4 separate regions of the Homo sapiens genome follow, and regions 1, 2 and 3 are each linked to region 4. The links are contacts of gene promoters, found by promoter capture Hi-C in blood cells and fetal thymus (Javierre and others, 2016). All regions are on one chromosome and are shown on one strand. The core of a region is centred on a gene start or on the middle of the fragment in contact, and the rest is flanking DNA. Distances in the headings are between cores, read along the strand shown.

Region 1 (3,116 bases), core at 30-2,529, 590 kb after region 4:
TTTGAAACTCGCTTTAATTTTTGAAAATGCAATTATTGGCAATTTTTGACCTTAGTAATTTCCATGCTGTTACCCAGGGATCAATTTAAATAATATTCATACCCTGGATGATGCCAACCATCAGGTAAGTCTAGTCTCTTACCTGACTCTTTTGAAATATTAAGGTATTTTGAGAATGCTCTGTAATCTAATGTGTTTTTCTTTCTGTTTCAATTGAGCAGTAATTCCCTACCTTGCTTAATTCTAAAATGGACATCATATCTTCATTCTTAAATGGAAGGTAAAATAGAGGTTACTATAGGGTTATTTTAGGGCATAAATGCCTATGGTATTGTATGTCAGTTTGGGAAGTTTGCCTTCACGCCTTCAAGTGTACAGGGAGATAGTTACTCCTTCAATGTGTGAAATGATTCTGTAGTGCCCTTCCTGCACTGAAGGGGGAAGAAGAATCTGAAACATAACACCAGAGGACTAGGTATGTTTGGAGAATTAAATAACTATTTCACAGCCAGACAACACTACAGACAGCTGCAAATAGAGAAAAGAAGGAAAACTTTTAAGATACGTGGATGTAAGCTTTCATTCTTACATCAATGGAAGTGATGATAGCAGTCAGCAGGTCAGTTCGATGCTCAGTGATAAGAAATAACAGGGTTATTTCAAGGTAAGGTAATCAGGCTCTAAGTTGCCAAGAACAGTAATTCATGTACTTGCTGGTTTCAGTTCAGAAGTTGCATAACATTCAAATATTTCTTACCTTGTCACTTTAATAATTCAGTGGAATTATCTTAATTTAGTGTGCTATGTTACCATTACTAAATTGGGGATGTTACATGATGGTGATCTTCAATTAAACTTAGGAATGTTGCAGACATTTTCTTCATCATTGACCTGTTGTTTTTCCTTTTCATAATTCAGATTTGTTTGATATACCAATAAATGTTGGCTATATCACTGATCATTTTATTATTCATAGTCTTGATAACATTATAGTTTATTATGACTCATATATAATGATTCATTGCAGCTGATAAAATGTTGTTAGGGATTGTATTGTGAGATTTTATTACTACCAAATATATAAATTAAAATGTGGAAGTGTCTGAGTTATTGTAAGTCATGTGATTGCAAAGCATTTTTCCTGAATGGAATAATGCCTGGTGACTGGGTGGGTGCCAATCCAGGTAGCTAGATATAGAATAATACAGTCTTCACAAAATCCAGAACTCACAATATAGGGTAGGGAGGGAGGGGGCCAGGGGAAGCACCTTTCTTTGACATCTGAGGCATGTTTGACTTCTATAGTTTCCTCTCCACTAAATATAAATTGGGTGAGTTGCAAATATTTAATGGTGTTAGTACTGCTCTTCCTTCATCTGTGCCCCTACACTGCCCCCACCACCCTGCCACAACACACACACACTATGCCATCACCACATCTGTGAGCTTGGCAAGGCAGAGGAAGCTCCTTATGGCCTGAGACCATGTACATAAAATGTAGACATTGGTGTCCTGTATTCCAGGTTGAATTTAAAACAGGTATGGGGTTTGACACAAAAATGATACTGTATATGAAGGTTAGGTAAAATATGTATTTGAAGTGAGGCTATCAGGGTACTATGCAGGCTTTTGGGGCCTGGCCCGAAACTTGGAATGCAGTTTTTCATAGAAACCCACAATCAGTTTACAAATAGACTTTTGAAACACTGGCTAGGTGGTATCTGAAGTTTTGGCCCATTGCAAGCTGTGTCTGAATTGCAAGCATGAGGGAAGTAAAAAGCATCCCAAATCAGAAATTAGGAGATCTGCCATTAAACCTTATTACCTTGACAAACCATTTAATGTTTGGATGATAGCTTCCTCCTTTTAAAAATACAATTTGGATTATATTGATCTAAGTTATATTTTAGCTCAAGATTCCTGAAGTTCACAGTGGTTTTTAAAAATTTTTCTTAAGAAAAAAAAAAGAACAAAAAACTTTTCCAAGCTTGAATATACATAATCAGCCCTGTTTCCCCTTGTACCTCAAATCATGGCAACAAGGAAGTTGAATTTCTCTTTTGAGACTTTTGAACCTTCTTCACATTCATTTTTAATTGTTTTGTTTTAAAACAATATCATTTTGGGAAGTGAGGGGAAGGGATGAAGCACATGTTTTCAAAGTCTTGCTGTCTGCCTCTACCCTAGTCTGAGATTACATATGGTAGTTTTGGCCAGGGAAAGTGCTTGGGATTTCACCTTCATACTCAGTGAGGCTCATGAAGTGTCATTAAGGTAGTGAGGTGTCATGATTAGCAGCCTTACTGTCAGGGTCCAATTCTGGCACTGCAACTTGCTGGCTGTGTAACCTGGCAGATTGTATAATCTCTGTGGTCCTCGTTTTGCTCATCTGTAGGATGGAGTGATAAAAGTACCCACTTCATATGGTTGTTGGGGAGATTAAATGAATTAATACATGTAAAGTGCTTACAACAGGAGCTGGTTCAGAGCCAGCGCTTAATACATTGAAATAATTATTTTTACATTGTGGTGCTTTTATGATGGTTTCTGCAGCATTTACCAAATGCCAGGGAAATTATTGGCTTGCTTTCTGTGTGGGTTTTGTCAAAATGATTATGGATTTCAACAGGATATTTCAGAGAAGAAATAAACTGCTGAACAGAAACCATTGTGAGCTTGATAGTTTGCAGGACATTGTAGAAAAGAGAATCCAGCACAGTAATTAAGGGCCTTTTTAAGTAGGGAAGTTGTAGCTTCTTGCGGTAGGCAATACTTAGAGAGGCATTAACCACCGCTAGCCAACAAGTATAGGAGAATGTATACAATTATTGCGTTTGTAATCCCAGGTAGTAGTCATTTTATAAAATGTCTTTGCTAGTCAGTACATGAATAAAGCGTTAGAAAGTGTTCATCATTTAACACCATTTGCCCAAATGCAGCTTGTAAATTAACTCTTTAAGCTGGCTTTTCTGTCTGAAAGTGATCACAGTTGAAAAAAAAAAAAAAAAGGATATTTGAAATCAGCAGGAGACTCCCAAATCAAGAAAGGCTAGAAAAGAGGAAGGGGGTTTGGAATATACATGATATAAATCAACAGACAGTGGTTAAATAGATAT
Region 2 (3,112 bases), core at 52-2,551, 610 kb before region 4:
TGCCCATGGCCATAGGGCCAATAAATGCTAGAATGAACTAAAAACTTAGTCTCTTGTCATCTTTCTCAAGTCCAGAGTCTTTCTGTCCACCACAGTAGTATGTCAGCTAAGTGCAGGATAGTGAAACTCCCCACATTAGAGGCCCCATTTGTTTTTAGAACTTGGATTGGCTGCAGTAATCTAAGCCTAGATTCCCCCCCAAGACAAAGAGATTGGATTAATTTTTTAAGTATAGCATGGGACCAGTAGACTCTAAATACCTAATTTGTATAATAAATAGGCATATAGAATATAAATGTGATTTCTTAGCCTCAAAAAAGTTACAAACCTAGAAATATCTGGCATTCAAATTAGACTTTAGCAGCAATTTCTCCTCCCATGATATAGGCAGAAATTAAGGAAAAACTGAAATAAAGGAAACTTGCTTGAATTAGGTTGGTGTAGGATAACTTGAAATGGTTTTTACAACCTATGCCAACTAGATGACATAGTGTCTGCCCAGAATATTCTCCATTCTCCTCAAGCCCCTACCCTATTACATTAGCAAGTAACCTTTCTTCCAGTATGAAAGACTAGAGTAAGAGTTTAAAATGCTGAAAGCTTTGCGGGGGTTTCCCACTGTTCCTTTGAACAAAACAAGCACACTAGTTTTGCTAGATACCCGGAAACATGTTTAATCTGTTTAGTAATGCAGGAGAACAGGTCTCTGTAAATGTCAGAGTGCCTTGACATGTCAGTCACCCCAAATCAAGGCACACCCTGAAACTTTGTATTGGAAATCTCAGGCATCTCTTTTGGGTCCCTCTTTCCCATCCTGTAATATTGCTTTTACCAGGCACTAATATGATCTGTACCATATAATCTTCCACAGAATTTCTTCATTGTAATTCTTTAAACACATCTAAGATATATATTTGTCAACAATTGGCAGAGGTACTACTTATTTGCTGGGATATTAGCATCTAGTGGAATCTCTCATGATCTGCCCATGTAGGGTACTAATAGTGAAATTAAGGCACCATGACATAATCGGGGGAATAGAGGATTAGATATTTGGTGATTAGAGGTGTCTTCCCCAAATCTCTCAAATTTCTGAGAATTTTTCTTACCTCCAATTTTAGACTGTCTAGCACTTTTTAGAACTTCCTTCTAAAAAGGACAAAAACTCTACTAATTTAAAATATAGGAAGAGTCATTTGCATGAGCCTGCTTAGTTAACTCCTCCTGATACAATTCCTTTTGTCACTGGATGTTTCTCAGACCAACCAAATTTTAACCATAAAGCAACTCTCAGGACTTCACAGCCGGGCTTGTTGGTTTATGCCGAATTTGTGTAATTGATCCTTTCTTTTCAGAACTGATTTGATTTTTTTTTCAGCACCAAATACCATTAAAAAAAATGTAACTGTGAAATGTGAATTTCTCATTAATTTATATTATAAAGTTAGAGATGAGGAAGTCATAGGCTGTAGCTGTTTTCTTCTGTACCCTCCCTTTCACTCAGGCTATTAAACTCCCCTTAGCTTTACTTCCTCTTTCCCTGACCCAGAGCCCATGCCGGAACATTCAACCACCTTACACCAGTCCCCTCAAACCTCACTACCCATTCTCTTTCTACCTCATGTGCTCTGATATCCCTTAGACTCATATTAATCCAGCAATTTGCTTTATCTCTTCTTACACGCAGGCTGGCAGGCACTGGTGGAGCAAATCATATATTGAAATTTCATAAAATTTTGGCATCTCCAGTTTCAGGAAAGTGCTCACTGCCCCTCTGAAATCCTAGCTAGCTGGCCAGCATTCTCTCCCATTGCCCATAGTATCTGTCCAAAATATTCTCCATTCTCCTCAAGCCCCTAGCCTATTACATTAACAGATAACCCTTCCTCCAGTATGAGCTATGAATATTTTCAACTTCTCATCCCATGTGCATAAATATATTTGTATACGTTACCACCTTTTTGTACTTTCTATCTCAAAGGGAAATATTTCTTCCACTATTTAAGCTTTAAGTTCCATCTCATCTCCATCCATTCATTCATGCATTCAATACATATTTATCAAATATTTATTGTGTAACTGTGCTGGAAGCTTGTGGTACTGTAGTAAGCAAGGCAGATTTGTCCTACCCTCAGAAAATTTTGGATGCAGAAGATAAGGAAATAAGATTGATAGATGAATGCTGTGACAGAAACACAATAATAGAGAATAATAAAAGAATAGTTAATTTTGAGAGGGTAGGCCAGGTGCAGTGGCTCACGCCTGTAAACCCAGCACTTTGGGAGGCTGAGGCGGGTGGATCACAAGGTCAGGAGATCGAGACCATCCTGGCTAATATGGTGAAACCCCGTCTCTACTAAAAATACACAAAAATTAGCCAGGCGTGGTGGCAGGTGCCTGTAGTCCCAGCTACTCAGGAGGCTGAAGTAGGAGAATGGCGTGAACCCGGGAGGCGGAGCCTGCAGTGAGCAGTGATCACGCCACTCCACTCCAGCCCAGACTCTGTCTCAAAAAAAAAAAAAATGTGAAAGCGTTGTCAGAGACGGCATCTCTATGAAGGGAATATTTAAGATAGGAACTAAAGGAATAGAAGCAGCCAGCTGCGAAGACATGGGAAGGGTAGCAAAAATGCTAGAAGTTAAGCAAATAACAAAAGCTGGAGTGTTCTTCAGGGAACTGAAAGAAGGCCAAGGTGGAGTGTGTGAGGGGAGAGTGGAATGACAGGCAGTTGGAAAGTTGAGCAGGGGTCCTATACACTAAAGAATTTGGATTTTTTTCCTTTTCACTTTGTCCCATAGAAATTGACTGAGGATTTTAAACAGAAGAGTGGTGTTGATCTGACAAACTGTGGAAGTAGTGTCCCTTTAGGAGACTCCAGCAATAATCCTGGAGAAAGAGAGTGGATGCTCAAGAGCTAGGGGAGGCAACTGTGGAGGTATAAAGATGTTATAGCTGAGATATCTGTTGGCAACACACAGAATAGAAGTTGATGGATTGATTGTATTTATGGTCAGGAAGAGGGTGAAGTCTAGATGAGAATCCATATTTCTGCAGCAAGGTGGGTGGCGATGCCATTATGAGGGAAATGCAGAGGAGCTGGTTGGGTTGAGTG
Region 3 (3,417 bases), core at 284-2,783, 530 kb before region 4:
ACTATTGCACTTGGAACTGGAATAGCAGGCATATCAACTTCTGTCACAACATTCTGCAGCCTCTATAATGACTTCTCTGCTAGCATTACAGATATATCACAAACTTTATCTGTCCTCCAAGCCCAGGTTGACTCTTTAGCTGCAGTTGTCCTCCAGAACTTCTGAGGCCTCAATTTACTCACTGCTGAAAAAGGAGGTCTCTGTATGTTTTTAAATGAGGAGTGTTGTTTTTACCTAAAACAATCTGGCCTGGTATATGACAACATAAAAAAACTCAAGGATAGAGCCCCAAAACTCGCTAACCAACAAAATAATTATGCTAAACTCCCTTGGGCACTCTCTAATTGGATGTCTTGGGTCCTCCCAATTCTTAGTCCTTTAATACCTCTTTTTCTCCTTCTCTTATTTGGACCTTGTGTCTTCCGTTTAGTTTCTCAGTTCATACAAAACTGCATTCAGGCCATCACCAATCATTCTATATGACAAATGCTCCTTCTAACAACCCCACAACACCAACCTTTACCCCAAAATCTTTCTCCAGTTTAATCTCTCCCACTCTAGGTTCCCATGCTGCCCCTAATCCCACCTGAAGCAGCCCTGAGAAACATCACCCATTATCTCTCCATACCATCCCCCAAAATTTTCACCACCCCAACACTTCACCACTACTTTGTTTTGTTTTTCTTATTAACATAAGAAGACAGGAATTTCAGGCCTCTGAGCCCTAGCTAAGCCATCATATCCCCTGTGACCTGCACATATATATCCAGATGGCCTGAAGCAACTGAAGAACCACAAAAGAAGTGAAAATAGCCAGTTCCTGCCTTAACTGATGACATTCCACCATTGTGATTTGTTCCTGCCCCACCCTAACTGATCAATTGACCTTGTCACATTCCTTCTCCTGGACAGTGAATCTCAGGAGCTCCCCACTGAGCACCTTGTGACCCCTGCCCCTGCCCACAAGAGAACAACCCCCTTTAAGTCTAATTTTCCACTACCTACCCACATCCCATAAAACTGCCCCACTCCTATCTCCCTTTGCTGACTCCTTTTTTGGATTCAGACTGCCTGCACCCAGGTGATTAAAAAGCTTTATTGCTCACACAAAGCCTGTGTGGTGGTCTCTTCACATGGACGCACATAACAGTAATCAGATGAGAAGTCACCACTTCCATTCCTACAATAACAACAACAAGCTAGATAAACAAAAACAATGACTTTTCTTGGACCCATCAAATAACTGAAGTTTCAGGGCAAAACACTACCCCAAATTTGGAGAGACAGGTGTATCTAGAGACACAGGTGGGATCTGCTTACGTGGAAAAGAAGCTGCTGGGATCTACTTACCTGGAAAAGAAGGTGCTGGAGCCATAAATTGTTAGGAGCATTTACATGGTAATGTTGGCAAATTGCTGGAGGCTGTGTGTGGACTCATGTGAGAAAAAAAGCTCAGGGGGGCCACCGTTCTAAGGGTACCCTCACACATTTGTGAGCTTTACCTCCAAGAACATGGCCAAATTCTCATAGTAAGGATGTGAGAAAGATCCTTCCCTGGATTTGGCAGGAAAAGAGGATGAAATCCCCTTGGAGAGTTCTCCATAACAAAGGCCTACTTTGCAGGGTGAAAGACTTTCCCAGAGCCTTATTCCAGAAGGAAGGGAGGAAAGGCATTCCTCTCTCTCCCCTGTCTTCTCTAGCTTTCTAGTCCCCACTAAGGGAAAAATTTAAAAGCTATGCCACTGGAGAAACACTTGTGAAGCTGACAGTTCAGAAACATGCCCCCAACCCCCACAAAAGATGGAGTTTTAACAAGATTATGGAATGCTTCTACCTCCCAGAACCTTCTCACCTCAGCAATAGGGCTCCCGTATGACAGTGGATTACAGTTGAAAAATCTGCAAAACAGAGATTCTGAGAAGTACTTAGGGAAGCCTAAAGTCAAGGTGAGAGACAAAATTAAGGAAGAATCTGAAGCTTCTGACATCCACACCAATAGCAAACAGTAAACATAGCCCAGCACTTAGCCAGATTAACATAAATCCTCACAATAAAGGCCTACTTGCCTATTTGTCTATTTTCCTCTCTGGTTTGAACAAAAAATTACAAAGCAGGCCAAGAAAAAACAAACACACACAGTCTAAGGAAACAAAGCAATCACGAGAATCAGGCTCAGCTATGACACAGATGATGATATGATCAGACATGGAATTTACAATATCATAACTATAATTAATACGTTAAGGGCTTTAATAGAAAAAGTAGACAACATGAAAGAAGAGATGAGTAAAGTAAGCAGCGAGATGGAAACTCTAAGAATCAAAACAGATGATCAAAATAAAAAACAAAGACAGCTGAGAAAAAAACTATCAGTGAGATTGAAGATCATCAATAGCAAACTGAAATGCAAAGAGAAAAAAAGAATTTTTTAAAAATCACATATCCGCTAAGAACTGTAAACAATTTTAAAAGCTATAACATACATGTAATTGGAATATCAGAAGGAAAAAATTAAAGAGAACAGAGAAAAAGAAATAGCTGAAGTAGTAATGGTTAAAAACTTTCCAAAATTAATGACAGTCACCACATCACAAATTCAGGAATATCAGAGAATATCAAGCCAAATAAATACCAAAAACAAAACTAACTGCAGAAAACCAGACACGAAGAAAATATTATGAAAGAAGCTAGAGGGGGAGAAAACTTTGCCTTAGATGAATGAAAATAACAATTATAATAGACTTCTCATCAGAAACTATATAAACAAAAGGACAGTAGCATAAAATATTTAAAGTCTTGAAAGCAAAAAAACCCAACAAGCTTGAATTCTATATCCAGTCAAATTGTCCTTCCAAAGTGAAGGAGAGCCGGGTATGGTGGCTCACACCTGTAATCTTGGCACTTTAGGAGGCCAAGGCAGGCGGATAACCTGAGGTCAGGAGTTCAGATCAGCCTGGCTAACATGACAAAACCTCATTTCTACTAAAAATACAAAAATTAGCCAGGCATGGTGGCACACGCCTGTAGTCCCAGCTACTCGGGAGGCTGAGGCAGGAGAATTGCTTGAACACAGGTGGTGAAGCTTGCAGTGAGCCAAGATCATGCCATTGAACTCCAGCCTGGGTGAAAGAGCAAGACTCCATCTTAAAAAAAAAAAAAAAAAAAAAAAAAGGCCGGGTGTGGTGGCTCATGCCTGTCATCCCAGCACTTTGGGAGGCCGAGGCAGGTGGATCTCCTAAGGTTGGGAGTTCGAGACGAGCCTGACCAACATGGTGAAACCCCATCTCTACTAAAAATACAAAAACTAGCCAGGCATGGTGGCAGTAGCTGTAATCCTAGCTACTCAAGAGGCCAAGGCAGGCTCCAGCCTGGGCAACAAGAGTGAAACTCCATCTCAAAAAAACAAAAAAAAAAAGA
Region 4 (3,355 bases), core at 340-2,839:
TCTTCTCAAAAATATGTAAAAACATGTATGGAACGGGCCCCTTTGCCCATCATCTAACTCTTATCATACATCCCTCAAAAAAGAAAGAAAAGCCCAATAAAATTGACAAGTCCATTGTATTACCTTGCTGCCTCTCTCCAAAAGCCAAATTCATGACAACTTTTTAACCAAGACTTTTCTTCTGTTACTAAGTGGAACGTTTTCTTCTCTAAGTAGCTTTTCTCCCATGCAAGCAGCGTTCAAATCTCCAGGGGAAAGGAGGGGTGGGGAGGGGGTGGGAGACTATCTGGCACAAACTGGACAGAGCCGAGCCAGTCTAGAACCCGACGGAAGTTACTGAATCCAGCGGCCCCAGAGGCCCACATCTCTTCTTAGTGCGCCCGAGGTTCTAGCCTCACTGTTTTGGTTACAGTGTTGAAGGAAGGGTTTTAAACTTGGCAAAGTACCGTGCAACATCTGTAACCACATTTGCCTTCTGGGGATCGGAAGATGAATCCCACATTCCTGGCTTTGAAGCTTTTTGAAACTGCAGCTAGGAAGAACCGAGGGAGGGAGGGAGTTGAGCAGAGTTTATTGGCTGTCTCTCCAGCAGAAAATTCCTCTTGGAAGAGATGGATATTTTGAGGGTGGGGGAAATTCGCCTATCTATCTCCTTACTCTCTACAAGCTCAGCTAGGAAGGTAAGCCCCGTGGCCCCGCGGCCAGATCGATTTACAAGTCAGAGTCGCACACCCTGAAGGAGTTCACAACACACACACACACACACACGCACTCACACACACCCCAATACAAACCTGAGACCCCCGCTCCACGCCTCTGCCCCCCCACCCCCCATATCCCACCAGCAGTTCAGGCCCAAAGCAAGACAGTTTTGTTCCGCGGCTGCTTCCCCCACGGAGAGGGGATCAAGCTTGGGGGAGAAAGGAATGAAAGCGAGGGGGAGGCACCGCAGACGCCCACCCTGCCACCCCCGATCCCTGCCTCTTCTCCCGCTAGGCTACCTCCTCCCTCAGTCCTCCCGGCTCCAGCAGGCGCGGCCGGCGACCTGCGCTCACCTCGGGTCCCGCCGCGGCCGGGGGCTGAGCCGGGGGAGGCGGAGTGCGAGGCAGCCGGGCGCTGCAGGTCGGCGCGGCGCGGGGCGGCGCGGGGCGGGGCGGGGCGGTGCAGCCGGCGAGGGAGCCCGGAACTCTGCGGGGCCGGGAGCCGGGGGCCGAGGGCCGGCCCAGAGCGGCGGCGGCTGCGGTGGCTGCAGCGGAGCGGTGCGTGGGGCCGGGAGCTTCCCGGCCCTGGGGCCGGCGCGGCTGGCCGAGGAGCAGGCTGGCAGCGGCAGCGGCGGCAGCGGCAGCCACCCGGGGGAAAGAGCCGGGGGAGGGCGGGGAGGCGGGGTGAAGAGGAGGAGGAAGGGGAGGAGGGCGGGCAGAATAAACTTCCCGAGGCGCAGAGGCTCGGGCTGGGAGCACGACCGCGGGCGGGGCGGGCGGACCAGCTGGGCTTGCCCCCGGGGGCGGCGGGGGAGACCGTCACAGAGAGTAGAAAAGTTCCCCCTGCGCCGAGGGGGAGGCTGCGGCGGCGGCGGCGGCTGCAAAGAGCAGGAGCCGGAGCGGGAGGAGCGGGAGGAGGAGGAGGAGGAAGTGGCTGCGGAGCGCTCGGCCAATGAGTGTCTGGAGCTGTGATTAACCAGGCAGCAACACATCATTTCCTCCCGGCGCGGATCCAGGGAGCCGGGAGGGGAGAGAGGAGGCGGCGGGGCGGGGCCGTCCCCGCGCCCCCTGCAGGCGCCCGGCCGAGGGCGAGCCCGCCGAGCCCCGCCGAGCCTGACCGCGCCGCCCCCGGCGCGCCTGGCGCTGTCTGGCCGGTCGCTTGGCCCGGGTGGAAGCTATGAGCGCGCCGCCAGCGGGGCTCCTCGGAGGCGGCGGGGCAGGCCCGAGCTGGGCTCCTGTGGCCGGGGTGGGAGGAGAAGAGGCCGCGCGGCACGGGTGAGTGCCCAGGTAGGCGCGGGCGGGGCCGTCTGGACAGCTCCCGAGGGCGCGCGGGGCAGGCGGGCGGACGGGCGGGCATCCCGGGCCCGGCGACTGCGGGCGGCCACCTACTCGAGCCCTGCATGTCAGACTTGGGCTGGATTCTCAGAGAGAAGCCTTAGCATTCTCATCCAGGCCATCTCTGACCTGCCTTCAGATCCCCTTCCACTTTGCTCATTTCCTTGCAAGGTCTAGGGTTATGACAGAGCTTGCCATGTTCGCCTTTGGCTTCCTTAGTAACAGAAATAAGCATGGAGGGGCTTCTGCAGTGATCTAGCCCTGTCCTAGGCGCCATGGGAGCTTACAGTGGAAATGCAGGAACATTCTCCGCTGCAGAGAGTCTGATAACCTCGGTCCTTAGATACACAAAAACACCCCAGTGTGCTAATATTACCCAGAGCATCAAAAAGGCATGCAAGGATCAAATTTTGCATGGTTCCTGCTGAGTGTAAAGGAAAGCACTAAGCCATTTTCTCTGCCCTCTAGAAGCTTATAATGTACAGTCCTATCACAAAGCAGAATAAAAACATGAAACCTATAAATGGGAATGCCATAAAGTATTTTTATCTCTACAGGTTCATTCATGCAGAGGGCATTTATTGGGTGACTGCAGTACTGCAAAAGGTTGCAAAGGAAATGGAAGATCTGGTCCCTGCAGGTTGGGAGTTTACAATCTAATTAGAAATACAAGGCATATATACGTGAAAAAACTAGAATCCCCAGCTGTAAGCAAAAGGATGGAGTAGGTGGGAGCATTTTTTTCATAAAGAGAGCTTTGTACCTGTATGATTGGTGAGGAGCAGGAGAGGCAAGTTCAGTACCAATCAAGGCAAGAGCACCTATATGTATCCCTGCTCTATAGAATGATGTAACAGGGCCCTCATTGTCACTTGGCTGAAGTGTCAGCTCTGCCACTTACAAACTGTTTTGAACTGGGGCACATTTTTAACCTAAGAAGGGAATACAGGTTGTCTCGTGAGGTGGTTGTGCAGTTCAAATGAGATTACAAACGTGAAAGCTTGTGAAGCTCAATGATGTACATTCATGGAGTCCTCATTGTACAAACTGGCCCTTCTTGGTAACCTTTAGAGTTCCCTCCCAGGCTGTAAGCTGCAAGAGGGCAGGGACCAGGTCTGATTGTATTCATCATGTATCACAATGTTTAGCAGAAGGGTTCATGTGGGTGTTCAATAAAGTTTTGCTGAGTAGGTAAATAAATGAATTAATGAATCCTGTTATGCTCTGAACAGTTCCTATTATTTGTTCCTTAAGCAGTTCCTTCAATAGTGGTCTTATTGTATGGCTGGCTCAGTGAAAAACACTCTAACTCAACCTCC

What was found. The method cuts DNA at HindIII sites, captures the fragments that hold promoters and counts their contacts. A CHiCAGO score of 5 or more calls a contact.
Region 1: a contact is called between a fragment that was not itself captured here and the fragment with the promoter of ACVR1 in region 4, in 2 of 17 cell types (fetal thymus and non-activated CD4 T cells). The highest score is 6.7, in fetal thymus.
Region 2: a fragment that was not itself captured here is called in contact with the fragment with the promoter of ACVR1 in region 4 in 1 of 17 cell types (activated CD4 T cells); the score reaches 5.0 in activated CD4 T cells.
Region 3: a contact is called between a fragment that was not itself captured here and the fragment with the promoter of ACVR1 in region 4, in 2 of 17 cell types (total CD8 T cells and total CD4 T cells). The highest score is 5.8, in total CD8 T cells.

What each region holds. Positions count from the first base shown.
Region 1 is chr2:158,460,421-158,463,536 of GRCh38, forward strand. All of the region lies in intron 1 of PKP4 (plakophilin 4), which reads left to right. Among named protein-coding and RNA genes, the nearest start is that of PKP4, 5.0 kb to the left of the region's middle. The HindIII fragment of the contact is 1,411 bases long and covers 575-1,985 here.
Region 2 is chr2:157,268,594-157,271,705 of GRCh38, forward strand. All of the region lies in intron 1 of GALNT5 (polypeptide N-acetylgalactosaminyltransferase 5), which reads left to right. Among named protein-coding and RNA genes, the nearest start is that of GALNT5, 12 kb to the left of the region's middle. The HindIII fragment of the contact is 1,406 bases long and covers 599-2,004 here.
Region 3 is chr2:157,344,299-157,347,715 of GRCh38, forward strand. No RefSeq gene overlaps it. Among named protein-coding and RNA genes, the nearest start is that of ERMN, 20 kb to the left of the region's middle. RefSeq lists an enhancer at 1,211-2,063. The HindIII fragment of the contact is 884 bases long and covers 1,092-1,975 here.
Region 4 is chr2:157,874,741-157,878,095 of GRCh38, forward strand. It overlaps ACVR1 (activin A receptor type 1), which reads right to left and starts at 1,590. Exons shown (of 11, transcript NM_001111067.4): 1 at 1,056-1,590. LOC105373714 (a long non-coding RNA gene) reads left to right here and starts at 1,844. Exons shown (of 2, transcript XR_923518.3): 1 at 1,844-1,976. RefSeq lists silencers at 1,062-1,271, 1,362-1,411, 1,422-1,641, 1,702-1,941, 1,962-2,151 and an enhancer at 1,537-1,831. The HindIII fragment of the contact is 1,597 bases long and covers 909-2,505 here.